Regions from separate parts of the Homo sapiens genome. Here all the other regions are linked to region 3. Evidence: promoter capture Hi-C in human tissues and cell types (Jung and others, 2019). All regions are on one chromosome and are shown on one strand. Each heading gives the region's core, a stretch centred on a gene start or on the middle of the fragment in contact. The rest is flanking DNA. Distances are from core to core; before and after follow the strand shown.

What was found. The method cuts DNA at HindIII sites, captures the fragments that hold promoters and counts their contacts. A contact is called where the count stands out against the background at its distance.
Region 1: a fragment that was not itself captured here is called in contact with the fragment with the promoter of KHDRBS3 in region 3 in 1 of the 25 tissues and cell types used here (H1 embryonic stem cells).
Region 2: a fragment that was not itself captured here is called in contact with the fragment with the promoter of KHDRBS3 in region 3 in 2 of the 25 tissues and cell types used here (dorsolateral prefrontal cortex and hippocampus).

What each region holds. Positions count from the first base shown.
Region 1 is chr8:135,708,942-135,712,973 of GRCh38, forward strand. No RefSeq gene overlaps it. Among named protein-coding and RNA genes, the nearest start is that of KHDRBS3, 250 kb to the left of the region's middle. The HindIII fragment of the contact is 4,563 bases long and covers 1-4,032 here.
Region 2 is chr8:135,232,243-135,236,145 of GRCh38, forward strand. LINC01591 (long intergenic non-protein coding RNA 1591) reads left to right here and starts at 1,889. Exons shown (of 5, transcript NR_120396.1): 1 at 1,889-2,272. The HindIII fragment of the contact is 3,202 bases long and covers 942-3,903 here.
Region 3 is chr8:135,455,817-135,459,626 of GRCh38, forward strand. It overlaps KHDRBS3 (KH RNA binding domain containing, signal transduction associated 3), which reads left to right and starts at 1,640. Exons shown (of 9, transcript NM_006558.3): 1 at 1,640-2,138. The coding sequence starts at 2,051. LOC101927872 (a long non-coding RNA gene) reads right to left here and starts at 2,159. Exons shown (of 4, transcript XR_002956731.2): 1 at 2,066-2,159. RefSeq lists a silencer at 1,512-1,811. The HindIII fragment of the contact is 4,912 bases long and covers 1-3,810 here.

The DNA.
Region 1 (4,032 bases), core at 1,005-3,504, 250 kb after region 3:
GACAGCTGTGGAGTGGCAGTAATAAGTTGGGAGCATTTCTCAAACTTCAGTGGGCATAGGGTCTCTCGGGATCTTATAAAAATGAAGATTCATTTGAAGCTATTAGATCTGGGATAGGGCCTAAGACTCTGCATTTCTAATATTCTCCAGTGATGCTGACACCTGACAGGAGGACCACACTGTGTGTAGCGAGGGTGTGAAGCACTGGGCAGATGGCAGGGATGAGGGTGGTTATTTGTCTAGACAACGAGATCCCAAACACAGAAGTTTACTAACAGAAAACCAAAATCACCAAGGGATCCCACAGTGGTAGAGAGAGTAGAGAGAAGCATGGCATCTCAGGCTCAACGCAGGGAGCACACAGGTCCATGGGCTGGGGTGGGTGCCCACACTTCCTAAGCTTGTACCCTGGTATGCATCCTAAGCACGTTCCAGGGGCTGTGGCAGGTGGTGCACAGTAGATGGAGAGGGAGATGCTTTAGTTCTGTTTCACCAATGACCAAACTGATTCCGTAGAGATTAGATGCCTTGCCCAGAGTCACACTGTAACAAGGGATAGAGCTGGGATAGGAGCACCCAGGCTGTCTTGCTCCAAGCCCATGGCCTCTCCTTACTGAAGGGCAGAGGGAGTTGAAGGGGGTGTATGTGACAAGAGGCTCTGACACTCCTTGGGACACTGGGGGATGGGAGCCCACAGTGTCCAGTTGCTGTCCCCGGGACACTGGGGGATGGGAGCCCACAGTGTCCAGTTGCTGTCCCCGTAGAGCACTCTCTTCTCCTACTCTGTCCCAGAGACTCACTCGGTTTTCCTGCCTACTCAGAGCAGCCGTTAACCTCATCTGTCCGTGGCACCCTCTGCCCCAATAGCCCCCGGCTGCAGGGCAGTGTGGCCTCCCAGCAGCCACAGGCTTGTCTCAGCGTATCAAATGCTTATAATTTTACATCATCTCAGTGTCCATTTTTAAATTGAAGCTTAATTTTTTATACCAGAAGCAGGGCTCAGTCCCCGTTGGCACAGTTGTTAATGATATCCCCAATCCAAGTGGCCCCAGGCAATGGCCAGAAATAAAACTGAGAGGTCTGCCTTACCTAGCAGACTGGGCTCCTGGCTCTTCTGCCACTTCCTTAAAGGAACCATTCAGACATTTGCCACCTCTCAGACACAGCGTGACCTCCTAGAAATAGTGCCTGCTTGCTTTAAACCCAGCATTAAAGCTCCCCACGGGAAACCTGTTGGGATAACACCCTGGGCCCAGTGAGGACGTTGGCCCATGGGTCACTCCCACCACCCACTGTGCCGTGCTCCCTGACCTCCCTGTGTGCCTGTGTACGTGAGTATGTGTGAGTGCGTGCATGTGTGTGTGTGGCCTCTATGCATGCTGTGTACTTCCCAGGGTCTGTGAGTACTAAAAATGCTTAAAATTTCACATTGTGGTTGTGTCATTGAAGCTGTGCCCGCCATCTGACCCCTGATGGGGACTCACGCAGGTAGGTTCCTGCTGGCACTCTTTTGTCTGGGCCTCTCAGCTGCTGGCGACAGTAGTTACCGGCTGAGTTGATAATGAAACTCAAAGAGTTTCATTCAAAACACCCTCTTAGTGCCTCGCCCTGGAAGCAGATCAGAAACTAAACTCACAGAATCAGCTGTGGGACACAGTGAATGCCCTGATCACCCCCTGAGAGTCTCATTTCCCGTGGGCCATATGACAATGTTCCAGCCAATGGGTGTGAATGGAAATGCGCAGCCGACCTCTAGGCCACACCTTTTATTCGTTTATATTTATTTATGGATTCATTGTTTTAGAGACAGGTTCTCACTCCGTTGTCCCGGCTGGAGGGCAGTAGTGTGATCACAGATCACCACAGCCTGGAACGCCTGGGCTCAAGTGACCCTCCCATCTCAGCCTCCCAAGTTGCTGGGGCTATGGGCTCGTGCCACTGTGTCGGCTAATTTTTTTTATTTTTAGTAGAGAGAGGGTCTCACTATGTTGTCTGTGCTGGTCTCAAACTCCTGGGCTCAAGCAATTCTCCTGCCTCGGCCTCCCAAAGTGCTGGGATCCTGACAGCCGTGAACCACTGTGCTCGGCCTCTGCATCTTTTAAGAAGAAAATGGCTTGTCTCCCAAGACCTGATTTCCTCCTTCCTCCAGCTGGAACTCAGATGTGGAACAGAGGAAGTGGCTTCAACAGTGCAGGTGAGGTCAGTGCCTGAAAGAAGCAAAGCAAAAAGAGGGAAGGTCCTTGGCGCTGGGATTCCCTGTGGGGCTGAGCAAAGACCCGCCCTGGACCCACACACCTCCAGGCCGTTACCAGCAAGAGAGAGAACTGGGTATTGTTGGACTTCGATATTTTTGGGCCTCTCTTGTAGCAGCTTAGCCTGTCCCTTCAGGAACTCATAATCAGTGGTTTCGAATCTTAACTCGGAACCTTGAGTTATTTTAGTCATTGAAGTTTTCCTTTCCTCAGAGATTGTTTTTAACCTTCCTGCCCAAGTCAGTTTCCATAGTGTGCTTTCTTATTTCCACATACCTCCCTGTCGAAGCACTTATGGTTATAATTTTGCACTTATGGTTGTGCATCTATGGTCGACATCTAGCTTCCCTACTGGGCCTTGAAGACAAAATTTGTCTTTCTTATTTTTGCTTACTCATGTAAGCACCTAATCATGTATCTCAGCACCTAATACAATGATGCCATTACTTTTTTAAAGCATGGATGAATGAATGAATGAATAAATGAGTGAGAGAGGAAGGGAAGAAAAAAGAAAGGACAGAAGGAGGGAAGAAAGGACAGGAGAAAGGAAGGAAGGGAGGGAGGGAAGGAGGGGAGGAGGGAGGATCTCAGTGATTAAAGCTTTCGGAGATGTGAAACCTCAGTTTGGAGTCAGTGTGAGATAGAGCTGGTACATAAGAAGATGGAAATCTTCTGTTGGTGTGCTCATCCCCCCACCTCTGTTTCTCCTAGAAACACCTATAGAAAAAGGGAGCTGTCTTTCTAGAGGTCTTGGGTCCCTGAGATCCAGAGAAAGAGAAAGGACTGGGCACAAAGGGAAGTTGCTGGTGCACTTTCTCGGAATCCTAACAATAACAAGACACCTTATCGAGCATCTTGGAAACTCAGAATCAATCTTCAAGCTGCATTTCATATGCCACCTTCTCCTGGCTCTCAGAGAGCCTTTCTGTCATCCCTCTGTACAGTGCACCTCTTCTTGTATCTTTTTATATCAGCAACTGCTAACTTACAGAAGGCTGGAAGTGTGGGACATTCTTCTGGAACTCTTTGAGAGTCTGTCCCTGACCTGCTGCCATCACCTGTGTGTCCTGTAGTGTGTGTTTCCCACAAACAAGGACATTCTCCTGCATAACCACACTGCATCCATCAAAATCAGCAGGCTGGCACTGATGCATGGCTACATCCCATCCTCAGACTCACCCGAGTTTCCTCAATCGTCCCGGGAACATCCTTTGTATACCAAAAGTATAACCTATTGCTTCAGTTATCACGCCCCTTTAGAATTCTTCTTTCCCTGACTTGGAGGGCCTTAACACTTGAAAATTTCAGGCCAGTCCTTATGTAGAATACTTCTTGCCCCAAACTCAGATTTTCTTGATGTTTCTTCAAGATCAGATCCAGGCCACCAGATTGTTGCCAATATCCTTTGGCAAGGATATTGCAAAAGCAACATGGTGCTTGTGTTGTCCCATCCCTTGAATAAGATAGAATGCCCCGTCCCACTCCACTGTGAAATGTCTTTTCCTTTACAAGTACTAAGTATTATTTGGGGAAGTTACATTCAAAATATGTTCATATTCCATTCTTCAAGATATGTTCAATATTATTTATCAGTATAAACTAGCAGTTTCCTGTTTTATTCTATGAATTATAATCTATTACACTCATTCTGTTGCTCTGGTTTCTCTGATTTGGTCAGTGGGAACCCTGTTAAGTTGGCTCCCATGTCCTATGGACATGTTCCTTTTATTCTTTTTACGCTACTTTGATCTCTGGCACAACATGTGCCAGGGTCATTTTG
Region 2 (3,903 bases), core at 1,293-3,792, 220 kb before region 3:
CCATCACCTCAAGACCCTTGGGGGCACTCATAAGTGTCCAGTTTGGTGTTCATTTTAGAGAAAACACATTTTCTGTAGAGGCACTTTAGAAATCTATTTGTTGTAGAAACAGTCTGAAATGAAAAAAAATTACAAGCTTTGGAGTGAAACCGAGGTGAGATAGATTTAAATCTTAGCTCTATTACACACTAGCTCTGTGACCTTAGAGAAGTGACTTAATTTCTCTGAGCCCCAACAGTCTTGCCTCTTAACTGAGGGCAATGGTGGTAATAATATGTATCTCCAAGTCTTGTGAGGGAGGCAGGCACATCTAAACATCATTGCAATACAAGGAAGGAACACATTGAGGGATGGTGTTATGGAAGCAACAAGGAGAACCTCACCTGACCAAGAGAGCCAAGAATGGTGCCTCGAAGAGATGCCAGCTGGGCTGAATTCTAGAGCATGAGCAGGTGCAACTGGATTAAGGCCGGGCCACTAGTACTTGCTTTGGAGACAATCTAGGTTTTGATCACTAAGAACACAAGGAGATGGAGGTCAATTTACTAATCAGAACTCCTCGAGTTTTGATTTTACCCCATGTGACTGAAGAAAGAGCTTTAATAATGTGCTCACAGTGAGGGACAAGCGTGAATAACTATGGCTGGTTTCCAGACTGCCTTGACTTAGTTTTGCACACATTTGAGTCCAGAAGAGACTCACTAGGTCTCGGCATAATGAAACCAGGGCCTCTTGGTCATCGAATGCCCCTCAGAGCTCTCAGTCTCTCTAAGCAAACTCTGTACAAATTTTTAAATAACACTTCAAAAAAAAGCAGCAGCAGTCTTTGGCTGGGTGCGGTGGCTCACTCCTGTAATCCCAGCACTTTGGGAGGCCGAGGCTGGCGGATCACCTGAGGTCAGGAGTTCAATACCAGCTGGCCAACATGGTGAAACACTGTCTCTACTAAAAATACAAAACTTAGCCAGGTGTGGTGTTGGGTGCCTGTAATCCCAGCTACTTGGGAGGCTGAGGCTGGATAATTGCTTGATCCCAGGAGGTGGAGGCTGCAGTGAGCCAAGATCATGCCATCACACTCCAGCCGGGGCGACAAGATCAAAACTCCATCTCAAAAAAAAAAAAAAAAAAAAAAGAAGAAGAAGAAGAGGAAATGAACCAAACTATTGGTCTGGAAGAAGGTTGCCCAGCTCCATGAGAAACAAAATTGCAGCTCTCTGAGCTCAGGCCTCTGGAACTGCGATCACTTCCATCCCCACTTCAGGACAGCACCTGGCTCAAGACAGCTGCCTGTCCTTACTGGTGGTCACTTCGACAGCCAAGTGCTCCCAGCCTCTTCAGTCATAGGACTTGATTTGGAAACCCATCACCACCCTCCCTGCCCCGCTCTGGCTGTCAGGTTGTCAGGGCTCCTCTCTCCTCTCTGGCATAGCCCAGAACTGAGTACAGCAGACCAACAGGGGAGACTGGCCCAGAAGAGCATGAGGTATCCCATGTTTCCAATGGGATGCTATGCCCCTCTTCATGGTGTCTAACTTTGTAGTTCCTCCAGGACTTCACTTACACTCTGAGTACATAGAGGATCAAAAGGGGAAGTGGCATGTTTTAGTGGAAAAGACAGGTTGTGGCTCAGAAAATTGATTTAACCTCGGGTAAGGCACTTGACAATTCTTGGCCTCAGCTTCATAATTTTACTTACCTGTAAAATAAGAGTTGTTGTGGGAATTAAATGACAGACGGCATGAAAAAGCTTGGCACCTTACCTAATACATCGGATCGGCTCGAGAAATGGTAGACTTCTTTCTGTCTTCTCCTTCCTTTCCTGCCTCCCTTCCTCCCACTCCTTCCTTCCTCTCCTCCTCCAGCCATGTCTCCCTCCCTCCCTCCCTCCCTTCCTTCTCTCCCCCCAAGCCTCCATATTTATTTCCTTCCTACTAAAATTTTCTTCCACATTCCCTCTCATCCAGTCCTCAATGAATCCTGAGGACAGCTATCAGTGGTCACTCTCTTGGGCTTGAAATGGAACAGATCTTCTTGTTCCATCTCTTTCTGATAGCGCCAGTTCCTGCTGAGGACAGAACATTGTCTTCTTTTCTCCCTGCCTCAGGCAGATGGCAGGGAGTGTTGTGTGTTCCCACAAAGGAGCGTGCTGTCCCCGCTCCCGAGTCTCTCAGCGAGCCCTGTCATGGAAGGCATCCAGGAGAATGTGGAACTCCGCACCCGCTTTCTCAGAACAGAGGAGCATCCATGACCCTCAGAATCACAGCATTGAGAGGTACCACAGGATGGGCCCCATGTTTGAATGGTCTGTGCACTAGGGACCGAGACCCTGAGGACAAGCCTGTGATTGGTGAGAAGTCCTGCACATTGCACACTGTGCTTCAGCTGATGGGGGCGGCAGGACTGATTGTCATTGTCCCTACTTTACAGACTAGAAAACTGAAGCTCAGACGGGCTTAGCAATTTTCCCCAAATTACACAGTAGTTAGGAGGTAGACAAAGTTTGCATGCCTGGTCATGGGAATCCAAGTTCAGTGTTCTTTCATTATGATGTTTTGCCTCTGCATATTAAAAAACAAAAAACAAAAAACAAAAAAAAAAAACATGAATTTTCAACTGAATGTAGGTAAATAACCCAGGAACTTAATTATATTTTTTTCCTTCTGGTTCTGGCTTTGGCTTAGCTTCTACCTGAGAATCAACCTCTCCCTACAACAACTGTTTCTTCTTTTCTGACATTCTATATTCTTTTTTTTTTTTTTTTTTTTTTTTTTTTGTGACTGGGTATCACCCTGTCACCCAGGCTGGAGTGCAATGGCTCACTGCAACCTCTGCCTCCTGGGCTCAAGTGATCCTCCCACCTCAGTCTCCCAAGTAGCTGGGACTACAGGCATGCACCACCATGTCTGTCTAATTTGTTTTTGGTAGAGATGGGGTTTCACTATGTTGCCCAGGCTGGTCTTAAACTCCTGGGATGAAGCAATCCTCCTGCCTCAGCCTTCCAAAGTGCTGAGTTTATAGGCACAAGCCATCACACCTGGTCACATTCTACATCTTTGTTGGGGGCTGCACTATGGACCCATTATTCACGCAAAACCTGGCAATCATCCTGAACTCTTACTACTCCTAACCCGTGCCCCACTCCCCGCCGGTCGCCAATGCTCTCCTTGCCATGTACAATCAATGCCAGGACCTGTACCTTTGACTTAACAAATACCTCTTGCATCTGCCCCTCCTCCCTGTACCAACTGTGCCCCCATTCACTGCTCTGCCCCAGGCTCTTCCTCACCCAGTAAAGTGCAATGACCTTGAACAGTTTGCCTTTTTAAAGGTGTTTTCTGTAAATCTATGCTCCATGCATTGGTGGGAAGATCTTTCAACACCACAATGGATACGTTCAGTGGCCACTCAGTTCCTCAAAGAAGCAACTGTTTATGAAAAAATGTGCCTGAGCCAGGCATGGTGCCACAGTCTTTGCAAGCAATAGCTCTAAATCACAAAGTAACTCTACAAAGGAAGCTTTGTTATCCCAGTTTCACAGCTGGAAAGTGGCAGAGCTAGACCTCCAACACAGATCTGTCTGACTGCACAACAGTGCTCTCTTCATACCCCACACAGCCTCCCAGATAAAATCTTGTCTCCTTAATATCAGTTGCAGCCCCCGTCTCCTGCCTCCAGACACCTCTCACGCCCTGCTTTCCAGACACATCCCCCTTCCTGAAGTTCACTCATCTCCTGACATGGTTTTGTGTTCCATGGCTCCATTTGTGTTCTTCCCTCTGCCTAGGATGCCTTCCTCTGTCCAACTGTCCCCTCAAGCACCACTCAGCCGCAAGACTAAGGTTAGAATCCAGGATTATCTCACTCCGATCTCTTCTCCTTCCCATTGCAGAGCCCTGTCTCCCA
Region 3 (3,810 bases), core at 390-2,889:
TATTTCATTATGAGTTAACATATTTATTCTCATGAACTTCTTATGAAATAAGTTTGGTTGTCATCTCCACTTGACGGATGAGGACCCTGAGGTGAAGAAACTTGCCCAAGGTCACAGCTAGTGAGCAGCAGATCCATGATTCCAAATCCAGGCTGTTTAACCCCAGAGGCTTTGCTTTTAACTGTGCCATTTTTCTGCTTCTTGCAAGTTGAGACTGAAGAGAGCCATGAAGAAGACTCTTACTGGGGACTCTGAAATGACACCTTAGCCGGGGGAGGAGTGGAGCCTTGAGAGTGAGGGCAGTTGAGTACTCGGGTCTGGGACTTAGAGCTTCCAAGATTTCTACCACCTCCCACTCCCCTCGGGTTTGTAAAGCTGCCTCCATTTGCATTGGGAGTGCGGGGGGGCTGCCTGGGGGACTGTGGCGATTGTCCTCAGGCTATTGGCTGAGAGTGGTATGCCACTGACTTATTCCTCCAAGAGACATTTCCAGTACCCTCCATCCCTGCCCCCTGTACTACACACTGGTGACCTTCCCCCTCAAAAACAAAACTCAAACTCTGTCCCTGATGCTCATGGTCTACTGAAAACAGAATTACAGCTGTCTGTGAATGACCTCTGACCAAGCTGGGGGGACACAGAGAAGGGACTTGTGACTTGCTTTGCCAGGGAGGTCCTGAGAGGCTGTCCAGGGAAGGTGACATTGAGGCCGGGACTTGAGCTGGCTGTTTGAAGGCAGGAAAAATGGCAGGGCAAGGACTGGAGTCCTTCGCCTTCCTGGGGGACGTTTATTCCACATGCCTCGGGAAATCTGAAATGGCCTTGGAGAGCATTTGCTGGGGGTTGGGGGTGGGCGGAAGGGGACAGAGAGCATTGCCACCGACAGGCGGGGCGTCCCAGGGCCTCTCCCCAGGAGCGGATGAGCTCAGACGCGGCTCACTCAGCTGTGTCCAGGCACAGCCGGTTTATGACCTAAGAGAATGACAACCCAGGAGCAAGTCGGGATGACAAAGACGCCCAGAAGGGCACGCGCTTTTATGTAACCGACCTCTGAGCTGGCGGATCTCAGGAGGTTGGCGCTCTGAGCTCAGGCGCGGAGAAAGGACGGCGCCCCTGCCTTACTCTCTTATAAGTACGAGGGGACAGCAACGCGACATAACTTAGAGAAGTCCAGGAAGCTTTAGAGAGCAGGGCGGTCCCGCTGCTATTCCTCAGAGCGCGACTGGGGCGAACTGGGGCGCCCTTCCCAGCTCCAGCTCGGCCCTTGTCCCCTCTTCCCAGGATCACTCGCTGGGTGACCTTGGGCGAGCCACTTGACTTCTCTGAGCCCCAGTTTCCCAGTCCGTGCATCTGAAAGGCTGTAATAGCGTCGTGGGGCTCCCCACTCGGCCCTCAGGGCCAAAGGTGGGCGCCGGACACGCGGGAGGGGCCCTTGGACGCACCCCCTCTCGCAAACGCCCGGTTAGTCCCGGCGGACTCGCAGTGGAGAGCGGCCCCAGGAGGCGGCGGGCGGCGGGGCGGTGGGCGCCAGTGCGCAGGCGCGGCGCGGCAGGGCGGGGCGGCGGGCGCGGGGCGGGGCGGGGCGGAGCCGGGCGGGGCGGGGCCGGCGGCAGGCGCTGGGCGCTCGGCGCGGTGGCTCAGAGTGCGCGGGGCGGCGCGCGGCGTGCAGGTCGCAGCTGTGGCTCGGGTGCTGGCAGGTGCTGGCGGGACTGGCGGGGATCGCCGTGGACTGCCTCAGGGGCGCCGCAGCCCGCTCGGCCCGAGGGCCCGCCTAACCGCGCCGCCCGCGCCCGCTCCTCCTCGGCCCGCGCCCGGAGCGCGGGGGCCGCCGGCGCTGGGTACTCGGCGGCCACCGGGGATCGGGGCTGAGCGGTCGGTTCCCGCCCCCGTGCCGCCGCCGCCGCCTTCCGGCCGACCGCCCGGCTTGGCCGCTGCTGCCGCGTCTGGCCCCCGGGTCCCCGCCGCTGGGGGCGCGGGCGGGGTCGGGGGTTGCCGGGCGCCGCCCCCCGTGCGCCTGGAGTCCACATCCCGGGCCCGGCGGCCGGCGAGCATGGAGGAGAAGTACCTGCCCGAGCTGATGGCGGAGAAGGACTCCCTGGACCCCTCCTTCACGCACGCCCTGCGCCTGGTGAACCAAGGTGAGGCGCCGGCCGTTAACTGCCGGCCGGCGGCGGTTGGGGGCCGGGTGGAAACGCGGGGGCCCAGGGGGCCCCTCCGTGCCCTCTGCTGTCAGCGGACGCGGCGGAGACGGAGGCCCGGGTGGCCCCCGGGGTCGTTTGCACGGGGACCTGGGAGGCTGTGGGACACCTAGGGGAAGACCCTGATGTGAATTTTGGGGACTTGGAAGGAGAAGGCTGGGGCGCATGGGTGAGACTTGAAGGAAATCTTTGGGGACTCGGGCACACCCAGGGGAAACTTCTGGGTGGGGGACAGCGACCATCTGGGGGCTTCGTTGGGAACGAGGTTGAATTATGTCATGGAAGGGGAGCGTGTTGGACTCGGGGAAGTAGGGCGTTTGGTTTGTCTAAGGTACTGGAGAAAAAGCTGGAGGAAAATGGAAGGACTTGAGGGACTCAAATGCAGAAGAGGTGAAGGGAACAGGTGCTTGCATTGTTAGCGAAGTTTGGGGACCTTGGAAGAGGGTTGGGGTCAGACCCCAGCACCTGAGAGGAGAGGAGCTCCGTGGTCCCAGGGGAGGAGCCCAGTTCCCCCTCCCAGCCCTTTGTCTCTCCTGTGTCCAGGCTCCAACAGCCCTGGCGGGGCAGTCAGCCCTCCCAGGGGATGGGCAGCCCATGCCAAGCCTTGCAGGCTGGCCCTTGGAGAAGTCAGTAGGGGAGAAGAGGCCGGCAAAAGAGCACCGTTCCGGAGGGCGTTGGGTTGGGTGACCCTCATTGGTGGCTGGCTTGAGGTTCGGAATAGTGGTGAAGGGAGTCCTTGCCATTTTCACACGACTCCAGCCAGCTCAGGGTGTGAAAGATCCTAGGAAGTACTGCGGGTCAGGGATACAGAGATTTCTGGAGGCACGCCTACCCGGGACAGTGTTCCCCTGGCTTTTTCCTCCTGTGGCTTCCTGAATCATCTGCTGGCATGCACGGTAAATTAAGCCTTCCTTCCTGGGAGCAGTCTCCTACTTTTCCTGGAATATGTGTTTCAGATGAAGATGGGTGTGGGTGCCACTGGTCTGTCTTTTCTCTGGGAAATGGCAGCAACATGATCTGGTCAGATCTGTTACCTTTTGCAGGAATTACTGTGCACTGACAGTCTGTGGTTCCCTAGATGAATCGGATCTGCTGCTCTTAGTGCTCGCCCTGGCTTTTTTATTGTTGGAAGTGAAAGATGAGGCAGACATATTCTATTTGTATATAGATACCTATATTTTAAAACAGTGACCTCCAGTTTTTGCCTGTTTCAACCAGTTCTTCAGAGTAGAGTGTGTGTGTGGTTGACCGATGGTGGAGGAGAGACTCTTTACTGTCTCCAAGAATTTAAGAATATTTGAATTGTTGAACAGAAATAGACTTATGGAGCTCCCTCATTTTATTTTAATTGCAGGCTTATTTTTATTTCTTTAATAAAATGGGCTTGTGAAAAAGTGAATGGGCATGCATTCCTAAATAAAAGAAAAAAAATTAAGTTTTATTTCTATGCCCTCTGAACAGTTCTGCAGTTGAGTTTGTACTCCTGTGCCTGATGATTTACATGTATCTTTTATTGCCTGCTGGGCTGTCATCTCTGTGAAAGAAATTTCTTCATACATTGCATGAGATCCGTGGCATTGGAAATATTCTGGACTGTGGACTCAAGTGCATT